Linked DNA regions of Homo sapiens: region 2 is linked to region 1. Evidence: promoter capture Hi-C in human tissues and cell types (Jung and others, 2019). All regions are on one chromosome and are shown on one strand. Each heading gives the region's core, a stretch centred on a gene start or on the middle of the fragment in contact. The rest is flanking DNA. Distances are from core to core; before and after follow the strand shown.

Evidence for each region. Contacts are between HindIII fragments. The study calls those that stand out against the background at their distance.
Region 2: a contact is called between a fragment that was not itself captured here and the fragment with the promoter of MS4A15 in region 1, in 1 of the 25 tissues and cell types used here (adrenal gland).

The regions. Positions count from the first base shown.
Region 1 is chr11:60,753,235-60,759,181 of GRCh38, forward strand. MS4A15 (membrane spanning 4-domains A15) reads left to right here and starts at 3,633. Exons shown (of 7, transcript NM_001098835.2): 1 at 3,633-3,824. RefSeq lists a silencer at 243-454. The HindIII fragment of the contact is 8,663 bases long and covers 1-5,947 here.
Region 2 is chr11:61,075,568-61,081,514 of GRCh38, forward strand. The region is part of intron 1 of LOC105369325 (a long non-coding RNA gene); the gene reads right to left. It overlaps LOC124902677 (a long non-coding RNA gene), which reads left to right. Exons shown (of 2, transcript XR_007062690.1): 1 at 1-624; 2 at 2,080-2,342. Among named protein-coding and RNA genes, the nearest start is that of LINC02954, 23 kb to the left of the region's middle. The HindIII fragment of the contact is 5,190 bases long and covers 661-5,850 here.

The DNA.
Region 1 (5,947 bases), core at 2,383-4,882:
CTAAGTCCTTTGAGGACATGGACTTTGTGTTTTACTCCTGTATGGATTCATTCTGGGAAAATATAACAATCAGGAGAAACTTAAGTTATGCTGCTATAACAAACAGCTGAGTGGCTTAACACAACAAAGGTTTATTTCTTCCTTCTGTTCTATGTCTCCTGGAGGCTCTGTTCACTCAGGGACCCAGATGGATAAGGCAGGCTCTGCCTGGAACACTGATAGTCACTGTGACAAAGGGAAAAAGAGCCCTGCAGAGTCACGTGCTGACACCTAAATGCTCCACCCAGAAGCTATGCGTTTACTTCCACTTGCATTGGTTTAACCAAAACAAGTCACGTGGCCATGCCAAACTTGAAGGCACCCAGAATGTAAGGGCTGGGAACAATAGGGAGATAACAGTTGTGTCTGGCACTGGAGACAGCAATAGGGGGCACAGATGCAGACTCTGCGGATGGCCAAACTTGGACTTGAATCCCAGCTCAGCCATTTCATGATATATCACCTTGAGCAAGTCCTTTCACTGCCCTGAACCGAGGTTATCACAGCCGTAAAAAAAACTTTCAGGAATTATCAAAGGACCATTGTGAGGATAAGAAATAACTTATTTGAAGTGCCTAGGAAAGAGCAAGTCCTCAAAAAATGTTTATGATAAGCTCTTATTAACCTGGCACCAGTGCAGAAACAATGTGGGGCTCTATCACTGTTAATTGGTTTAGAAAGTTCCAGAGAGGGCCAAGCGCAGTGGCTTGTACCTGTAATCCCAGCACTTTGGGAGACCAAGGTGGGTGGATCACCTGAGGTCAGGAGTTCAAGACCATCCTGGGCAGCATGGCCAAATCCTGTCTCTACTAAAAATACAAAAATTAGCTGGGCATGTTGGTGACGCCTACAGTCCTAGCTACTTGGGAGGCTAAGGCAGGAGAATTGCTTGAACCTGGGAGGTGGTGGTTGCAGTGAGCCCAGATTGCGCCATTGCACTCCAGCCTGGGTGACAGAGCAAGACTCCATCTCAAAAAAAAAAAAAAGAAAGTTCCAGAGAGGTGAGTGATGAGATAGGATCATTAGCAACATCATCTTGAAACCCTCCCCCAAAAGTGAACCCCAAAACATTCACAGCACCTCACCAATCTCCAAGGACTTTCTTACCATTTTCGACCCTCACAATAAACTGAGGCACAGTGAGCAGCCTTCAGTATCTTTATTTTTATTTTATGGAAATGTAGACTAGCTCAGTGCCATTTCACATTTTGCCCAAAATCACAGCAAATAATCAAGATAAACAACTAGGATAGGCAATATTTAGCAATGTCCTCAGAAACTATATAGTCTTTCCAAATACGTCCATTTTGTGCTGCTATAACAGAACACCTGAGACTGGGTAATTTATATAGAACAGAAATTTATGCCTCACAGTTCTGGAGGCTGAGACATGCAAGTTGAAGCAATAGCTAAAATTTAATGAGTGTTTACTATGTGCCAGGCAGTGTTCTAAGAATGGGGTTGGCAAATTACAGCCCACAGATCAGACCTGGCTCACCATCTGTTTCTGTAAATAAGTTTTTGTTTTGTTTTGTTTGAGACAAGTTCTCACTCTGTCACTCAGGCTGCAGTGCAGGGGCGCAGTCTCAGGTCACTGCAGCCTTGACCTCCGGGGCTCAAGAGATCCTCCCACCTCAGCCTCACGAGCAGCTGCGACATGTGTGTGCCACCACACCTGGCTATTTTTTTGTATTTTTTTTTGGTAGGGGTGAGGTTTCACCATGTTGCCCAGGCTGGTCTCAAACTCCTGAGCTCAACCAATCTGCCCACCTCAGCCTGCCAAAGTGCTGGGATTACAGACATGAGCCACTGCACCCAGGCATAAATAAAGTTTTATTGGAACACAGCCACACCCATTTGGGTATATATTGCCTATGTCTGCTTTGCACTACAATGGAAGAGTCACGTGTTTGCAATCGAAGTTATATGGGTCCCCAAAGCCCAAAATATTTACTATCTGATTCTCTCTTTTTTTTTTTTTCTTTTGAGATGGAGTCGCGCTCTGTCACCCAGGCTGGAGCGCAGTGGCGCGATCTCGGCTTACTGCAAGCTCCGCCTCCCAGGTTCACACCATTCTCCTGCCTCAGCCTCCCGAGACTACAGGCACCCGCCAACACGCCCGGCTAATTTTTTGTATTTTTAGTAGAGACAGGGTTTCACCATATTAGCCAGGATGGTCTCAATCTCCTGACCTTGTGATCCACCCGTCTTGGCCTCCCAAAGTGCTGGGATTACAGCCGTGAGCCGCCGTGCCCGGCCTACTATCTGATTCTTGAAAAAAGTTTGCCAACCCTGCTCTGAGTAGTTGTCATGTCTACTAATAATCAGGTTAGTGTCAGATCCTGGAAATGAGAGACTCAGTGGAGACGGTGCTATTTGGGAAGTCACAGCACAATCCCTCTGGTGATCCACTCTGAGCATCACGTGTTGGTCACACCTCCTAGGCTGAAGGGAGCCATGTTAGTAAGCCCTTAAAAATGTCAAATGGCTTCCCCCACCCCTTAATGCCAGCAGATTCTTATCCTGTGTTTTCTCAGCCATCTCCTTGGAGGTGCCTCCAGTCACTGAAAACCTTGCTCAAGAGCCTATGTGTCCTTTTCGCTCTATTTCTCTGCATAGGGTCCAACGCTGTCCCTTGCCCCCTTTGTTCACCAATATAGGTCAGACCTATCACAAAATAAATGGCACAGAGGCTTCCTGAAGACACACATATTTTGAGCACAGAACAGTGAGGCTGAGCCCTTATCAGCCAAGAGCGCTTGCAGAACCACAGAGAATCTGCTGCACAATCTGCAAGCTGGTGCTCTCCCGAGCATGCATAGTAGGTCTCAGAGCACTGGGAAGCAATGCACATCCACGGTCCATTGTAAGTCACTGGCTTAGATATGTTATATTTAACAAAACATCTCAGCCGCATCGTGTTATAACAAGTCACGTTGTAAGGGATGGATTTTATCAAGTTGGTGTGTGTTTCCCACCAAACTCTATGAGATTGGTATTATCCCTATTTCACAGGTAAGGAAACTGAGGCAGAGGGTGACCCTCTCGCTCCCGTGCCTCACAGTAACAAGAGGAGCCAGAATTCAAACCCTGGCTTCTATCTCAGACCCTTACACTGAACTGGTAAACTCCTCACACACCCATGCCAACAAGAAGGATGACTGTTTTCGATCTCATTGTATAATCTGGCAGATTCAGCACTCTGTTGTTTCCTGGTAAGCTCATCTCCTGACACCTGGGTAATGGGTGTTTTTTCCCAAAGTGTTTGCCCAGGCCAGCCACACCTAAAGTGTTGGGGTACATGGCAACATATCCAAGCTTATGTACGTGGCATTTGAGGTCAGGGCATGGAAAAATACGGAGGCACTGTGTGTATGTTATTTGTGCATAAGAATGTAACTCCTTGGCCCTAAAAACAGGACAAGGAGTGAAGTGTGTCATAAGGAACGCTGAAAACAGCCTCCTAAGAATGTGGTTTGAGAGCTTTTGCAAGGCCGCAGGTGTCTCATGACCCCACCTCAAAAAGCCATCTAGTGGATGTTTGTGGTTTAACAATCCCTTTCAATAAATACTTGGCGGACAGATGCTAGGGCAGGCTCTCACAAGGGCGGGCTCTCAGAAGAGCTGCCCCCACCCCCTCTCCCAGCCCCCTTCAGCTGAAATTGTCTAAGAACTCATTCTTGGCGTTCACTGCAAGCTATAAGCTCTGCAAGTGGTGACCCCGACGTGATCGCCTTGAAGTTACGCTTGAAGGAGGAAAACTCATCAATTTTCGGGGAATCCCGGTAAGGGACAGTCCTGACTCCCGTCAGGAGGATGGGACCCACGCGTAAAATATCAGGGGTTGGATTATCATGGGTCAAGAAATGACCAAAGAACAGAAAGTGTTTTTTAAAAACAGTGCGACAGCTACTTAAGGCTAACCAGTGCACTGCAGAGCCTGGAGCTCTACACAACGCTATGATCTTAATTCGGCAGGAATGCCCTTGGTTTCCTGATCAAGGAACCTTAGACTTGAGTTATGGAGCAGGTAGGTCACTGCCTGAAAACAGGATGTGAGCAAGGTCATTTTACTGAGGTTATTGTTTTGACCACCTGGGCGCCGGTACACTCGGTGTTGTATCCTCTTTATCTGCCAGATTGCAGTGGGTCAGACCGCCCGTCTTTGCCTGAAGGGAATTCAGGAGGTTTAAAGGAGAAGGAAGAACAGGAGCCAACCAGGACAGCGGGAGGCGGGCGGGGGGTCCTCTCTCTACTTCATTCCCTTCTGTAGGGCATAAGGAGGATATTTTTTTCTAGTGATCATGAGGACGGACCGGAGCCTTTTCCTCCCCCTATAGAAAAGCCATTGCCCTCTTTTCCTCCACCCTTAAAGGGACCTGTATTCGTTGGCCCCGTTCAGGCAATGGCGCCTCCCATCCCCCTTGAGGAGTCTGGAGGCCGCCCAAGAGATGGTTCTTGGATAAGACCTCCAGTCAGTGAATATCTATATGATCGGGTGGCCGTGTCCTCAACGCCAACTCCTCGTCAAACTTTCTTAGTAGAGGGGTGCCTCCAAGAGGGACTTAGGAAGGGAGACTCTGAGGCGCTTTTTGGCGCATTCCCTGTTATTGTTCAAAGCAACAGGAGATGGCATGAGAGTTTGCCTTTTACTGTCTTTAAAGAGTTAAAGAAAAGTATCCGTGAAAACAGTGTACATTCACCGTTTACGAAGGAGGTGATTGAGGCTCTGGGAAATGGCTATAAGATGACTCCACATGATTGGAAAACTTTGGTAAATGTTTTGGTTTCAGCTGCAGAATATACTGTGTGGTGGAGTGAGTACAGTGATTTAGCCATGCAGCAGTCCTTGCAAAATTTGGATAATAATATCCCGATACAACTTGATATGCTATTGGGAACAGGGCCTTTTGCTTCAGCTCAGACTCAGGGTCAAGCAGGTGGCCATCTATTTCCTCAATGCTCACAGCTAGCAATACAAACATAAAAAAAAAAAATCCCGTAAGACAATCCCAGGGTTCCTTTATAACAGTTAAACAAGGTGCCACAGAAACATACATTAAATTTATCAACCGACTGCAAGCTGCAATTGAAAAACAGGTATCCCATCCTAAGGCTACCAAACTTCTTATGTTACAATTGGCTTTTGAAAAAGCAAATAAGGATTGTCAGACAGCAATAACTCCAGTCTAAGCCACTGCCACTGAAATCAGTGTGTTTATTAAAGCATGCCAAAATATAGGCACTACAACTCATCTGACTCAAACTTTTGCTGCAATAATGACCGGAACCACATATTGTAATTGTGACCTAACCAGGCATATGGCAAAAATAACCCTGCTACTGTTTTCCTACCTTTAAGCAAAAAACAATTTCATACTCTTCTAGCTTGTGCTCTTGATTGGCAAATCGCAATAGCTGACTTTATTGGTAATATCAGCTTTCATTTACCAGCCTCTAAGCTCCTGAACTTTTTACAAACTGTGCCTGTTAAATTTGTATCTATTGTTGTTTCTGAGCCCTTGCTTCATGCCACTACTGTCTTTACAGATGGTTTAGGAAAAACTGGAAGAGCAGCTACAGTGTGGCAATAGGCCATGCAAAAATGGCAGCACAAAATCCAGGAACATTTTAAAACCACGCAACAGGCAGAGTTAGGTGCCCTGATATTGGCCTTACAAACTTTTCCTCACCAAGACATAAACATAGTTAGTGATTCCGCTTATGCGGTGTGTAGTATTACTCATTTAGATCTTGCACATGTGAAGGGCATTACTAATGAACCCCTACTAGCTTTGTTTCTTGCAGCGTAAGAGCTCCTCTGTGACCATCATTGTGGGGAAAAGAAAGAGAGATCAGACTGTTACTGTGCCTATGTAGAAAAGGAAGACAAAAGAAACTCCATTTT
Region 2 (5,947 bases), core at 2,006-4,505, 320 kb after region 1:
ATTTATTGGAAAGTGGAAAAAAAGAAATAATTATATAATAATCAGTATAATATTATCCCATTTCCATTTTGTAAAACAAATAAATAAATAAAGATTCAGATCAAATTTTTAGTGGTGGTTACAGCTGAGGAGTGGGGTCGGTGGGAGTGATAGGAAGATGGAATGTTGCTATTTAAAAATGTATGTTGGTCAAATTGAAAAAAAATAAAAGATATCCTTCACATATTTCAATAATGAAAAAAGCAAGAAATAAGATAAAATAAAATAAATGTAAGTTGGTGCTCTTTGAATGCGTCTTGATGATATCTGCAGTTTTGCACATACATATACTGTGTGTGTGTGTGTGTGTGTGTGTGCACACGCCTATATAATTAACAAAGAAACATATCCTCACTGGCCCTGTGCAAAGCTGTTACAATATTTATTTTAGGAATGAGGAAACAGTCCTGAGTTCTATCACTTGCCCAAGAAACTCACATGCTGTGAGTGACTACAAAGGAATTCCAGTCCCAGCCTGAACTGAAAGCCAGGGAGGACCCTTCCCTGCCAACTCGCCTGCCCTAAGCACAGAGCGTGGCTGTGCGAATTGCAGACTTGGTGGATGACGGCTGTGGGGAGTTAGAGGTAGGAAGTGATCATGCATTGTTTCTCCAAATGCTGTATTTAATAATATTTCAGATAATCAAAACTACTGTAGTCAACTGGGGAAGTATAGAATTGTTAAGAAGCAGGAAAAAAAATACCAACCCCCCAGAGACAATTACCATTAGTATTTTGGGATATTTCTTCCAATATTTTAATTGCGTTTATAAACATGGTTCATATTACATTGTAGGTGTGATTTTGCATCTCTCTTTGAAAACAACACTGTATCAGATTCATTTTCTTTTGTCATTAAAGTCTTCATAAACAACAAAATTTAAAAAGAGATCAATATTTTAAATAGCAGTAGTTTACTTACTATCTAATTTCATCCTGCTTACCTACCACCCACCCAAACCCAACCAGCAGAGCACCCAACTGTCCCATCTAAGATAAAATATACTCGGTACATATTCTGCACCAAGCAGAGAGGTGACTAAGACACGCTGTACCTCATAGCACACAGCAAAATTAACTCTGGGTGGATTAAAGAGCTAAAGGAAAAAAAAATCACAGAAAGACTTGAAAAAAGTTGATGAGAGTATTTATCAAACCTCTGTGTGGGGGAGGACTTTCTAACCCTAAAGCTATGGGAGAAACCACAAAAAAAAGATCACTAGATTTGGCTACCTAACATTTTGATACCCTGTAAACAACCTGAACAAAAAAGGTCAAATAGCAAGTGGGGTAAAATCTTTGCAACAAACATAAAAAAGATTAGTAGCCATCATAAATAAAGAGCTCATACAAATCAATATAAATCACCCACTGAGACCCAAATGCCTAACTGGGGAAAGGCTTAGGAGTGTGCTATCCAATATAGTAGCCACTAGCCACATGTGGCTATTTAAATTTAAATTAATTTAGGATTTAAATTAAAATCTTAGGTAAATTAAATTAAAATCAAGTTTAAATTAAAACCTTAGGTAAATTAAGTCTAAATTTAAATAAAATTAAATTTAAATTTTACTCAGTTATCTAGCCATATTTCAAGTACTCAATGGACACATTTGGCTGGTTGCTGCTGGACAGGCAGATATAGGCCACGTGGACCCTATTAAACAGGAAGATACAGGCCATTTCTATCATTGCAGAAAGCTTGATTGGAAAGCACTGCTTTAGACAGTGCGCAAAAGAAGACTCACCAGTGACCAATAAACACATTTAGAAATTCAGCTTCATTAGAAATAAAAGGAGTGCAAACTAAAACAAGGTCACATATTCATCTAGTTAGGAGTAAACAGGGTATTGCTAATTGAAGAGTAAAGAGTTACGGACCATCTGGAAAATAATTTGGCAATATAAGTTAAGAACTGTAAAAACCCTCAACCCAGCAATTCAGTTCCTGGGAATATGCGCAGCCTAAAGAAATTGTCAGAAATACACAAACCATTTTGTGCAGAAACGTATTGATTCCTAAATTATTTATTATTTCAGAGAGCCGCAGCCTGAAAGCCCAACCTCAGGGAAGTGATTACACCCATCAAGACCGACCACTCAATGGACGGACAAACCATCAATAAACATTATGTTTTGCCAAGAGGAACTAATGACTTGGGAAATACATACAAAAATAAATTTAAAAAACACCACATTCGAAACTGAAAGGTTAGGATAACATCAACTATAAAAATATGAAGACTATGCACAAGAAACTGCCAATTGCCAGAATAAATATCACTGGGTGATAGGATTCTGAATATTCTTTATGCTGTTCAGTAATTCCTGAATTTTTAACAAAGGTCATTTTCTGGTTTTATACAAAACTAGAAAGGTCACTAAAAATTCACAGGAGAGATAACCTAGTGATTAAGAGCAGGGATCTAAGCTGGCTGAGCCTTCGACGCCAATCCCCTGTTGCTCCCTGGCTCTCAGACCTCAGATGAGGTCAGCTCGGCTTCCTTGTCTGCAAAATTAATAACCACACCTGCCTCATAAGGTTTCTCAAGAACTGAGCAAGATGGTGCCTGCACAGTGCTGGGTAGAGTCTGTGCACATGAGCCCAGAACATACGTGAGGACTGCTGTTTGTATTAACATGGGAAATGCTTATGTTACTCTGTTGTCGCGTGACAAACCAGGACCCAGAATCTTCTATAGAACATGCTCTCAACTGGAAAAAATATGCTTTTTTTTTTTTTTTTTTTTGAGCCAGAGTCTTGCTCTATTGCCCAGGCTGGAGTGCAGTGGTATGATCTTGGCTCACTGCAGCCTCCGCCTCCTGGGTTCAAGTGATTCTCCTGCCTCAGCCTCCAGAGTAGCTGGGACTACAGGCGCACGCCACTGCGACCGGCTAATTTTTGTGTCTTTAGTAGAGACGGGGTTTCACCATGCTGGCCAAGATGGTCTCGATCTCCTGACCTTGTGATTCACCCGCCTCGGCCTCCCAAAGTGCTAGGATTACAGGCATGAGCCACTGCGCCCAGACAACATGTGCTTTTTCAAAAGTCCACAAAGACCAGGAGCTACTCCAAACTGCTGATGGCAGTTTGGGGAGATGGGAATAAATTTCCTCTCTTTGCTTAAAGAAGCATGAAAATATCTTTCTGTGCTTTCCAAATTGTCTCCAATGAGCATGCTATCTTCACAATGAAGGGGGGAAAAGCTTTATAAAGATAGAGAAAAGCTGAAATAAATAAAGGTTTAACTGGTTGTGCTGAGGAGGTCATCAGCTGGCACGCAACTGAGGCACACAGCCTCTGCAGCTGGTGGTTACTGGGGAGACCTCTGCCTTGTGGGATTCTGAGCTGATTTAATTTTTTTTCTTTCTTGAGACAGAGTCTCACTCTGTCACCCAGGCTGGAGTGCAATGGCGTGATCTCGGCTCACTGCAACCTCCATCTCCTGGGTTCAAGCGATTCTCCTGCCTCAGCCTCCTGAGTAGTTGGGACTACAGGCACCCGCCACCACACCTGGCTAGTTTTTGTATTTTTAGTAGAGACGTGGTTTCATTATGTTGACCAGGCTGGTCTCGAACTCCTGACCAACAGCCAGGTGAACTGCCTGCCTTGGCCTCCCAAAGTGCTGGGATTACAGGCACAAGCCACCACGTCCAGCCACATTTAATTTTTTTCTACATATTTTATGTATTTCCAAACTGTACAAGAGGTAGTAAATATTATTTTTCCCAACCAGAAGAAAAGACGTAGTTAAGAAAACTAAAGAAAACCTGGCCCTCTGCGTTGGGACTGGTGAGAGGGACGAAGGTAGATGGAAACAAGAACTGAGGGGCAGGGTGGGGGTGAGTGTTAGCACAGGGGCCCACCCTGCTGAGCCTGCGGGTGGGGCTGCAAAGCAAAGGCCTCCGAGCCTCCCCCTGCTCCACTCTGAGCCTTGTCTCCTCATCCACGCACAAGCCCAGGCCCAGCACAGCCGCAGACACGCCAAGGTGATGGGGGGCAGACTACCTGGACTGAGAAAGGGTTCTTTTTTATTTTCTAACCTTCCAATAAAACATCTGTGAATTTTTTCACTGTCAGATCAAATAAGAAAGGAACTTGCGTTTTGCAGTGCGTAGAGCTGATAACAGATCTATTGCATTTCTGAAATGTACAGAAGTTTTTTCCTCTTGAGAACCTGGGAGTAGTCGTCCCCACCCTGTCCCCAAAGCTGGGCCTAGTCATGACAAGCACTCCAAAACCCACAGGTCCCAGGTCCCCATACACCTGGGAAACAAAAGCATCTAACATCAAAAAGGACCACGGCCATAAGGAGGAAGAAACACCTTCTCAGGGTGAGGCTCGCCCACCCCCCTCTCTGCCAGGCCAGGCTTTGCTGTGTCCAATCCCCTCTCCTCATCTCTGAACTCCTCAAATTCCTGGGAGAGACGAAGCCTGTGAGGCCTTTTTGTCCACTAAAAGTAGGGGGCCAGTGGGACTTAGTGTCAGATCGGTTTTGCTGGTCATACTTCTGAGGTGCTGAATTTAGAATTTTGGTTGACATGAATGGGCTGTTCCTGGAGTCAAAGAAGCCTGTGGTGATGCAAAAAGAGATCAGGAAAATCCAAAGGAACAGGATAGTTTTGTGGGACACTCAGGGACTCTGGGGTCAGACAACAGAACCATCCACTCTGGGCCACAGCTATAATGCACGGACAAGAACCCATGCTTGTAGGATGGCAGTGTGCAGTAGGTTACACGGCTGCTGCATGAAAATTACTAGAATTAACCCTCTCTGGCCCCTTCTGTTGTTCCCACAGCAACAGGGAAGGTTGAGGAATAACAGGATGAAAGGACCCGGGATCCAGAACCTTAAGTCTGGACCAGCTATGTGGGCCTGTGTCAGTCACTTGACCCTGGGGGGACTCAGCTTTCTTCTCTATATAACGGATTCATTTCAGCTCCAACTATTGAATCAAACAAGCCCCAGCACCCTACCTGAGGCTCCTCAGAACAGAGGCATCCTCACCTCATTGCAGGAGCTGGGAAGACGAAAGAAATGCTATAATCTCTAGCAGAACAAGTAACTGCACAAGGAGCTCAGCAATGAAGACACAAAGCACAAACCCCAGGTCACCAAGCCGCGGTCTCCGAAGTGGGGAGAACTTGCATTCTCTGCAGCTAAACCTGGCAAACCAACAAAATATGAAACCACACTTCCAGGCAGACCCGCCTTGTACTGCACCAGAGCTTCTAGAGCCTTTTTTTTTCCTTTTCTTTTCTTTTTTTCTTTTTCTTTTTTTTTTTTTTCTTTTGAGACGGAGTCTCGCTCTGTTGCCATGCTGGAGTGCAGTGGCGCAATCTTGGCTCACTGCAACTTCACCTCCCAGGTTCACGCCATTCTCCTGCCTCAGCCTCACGAGTAGCTGGGACTACAGGCGCTCACCACCATGCCCAGCTAATTTTTGTATTTTTAGTGGAGACAGGGTTTCACCACAGCCAGGATGGTCTCGATCTCCTGACCTCGCGATCCGCCTGCCTCAGCCTCCCAAAGTGTTGAGATTACAGGCATGAGCCCAGCATAGAGCCTTTTTTAGGGGCATGGGAGGCACTGAGGTGCAGACTAAAGGTGCGGGCCTTCTCCCCAGAAAAACACACAAATGACCACCCATGGTGTCAGGCAGCTTGTGGAACACTGAAGGACAAACATGGATCCCAAGGTCAGGACGCCTGTTCCACCCAGGGCTCAGTGTGCCCCTAGACAACTTCCTATGCCAGGGGCACCCTCAGAGGAGCCAGAAACCAGACTAGAGCCCCAGTAGCTCTCAATGAAGTGCCTGGAGAGGGAGCTCTGTCCCCAGCTCTGGGGCCCACGTGTCGTTCTGGCTACCTTGAGAAGCTGGGAGTAGAACCTCCTCCCCGCTCCCT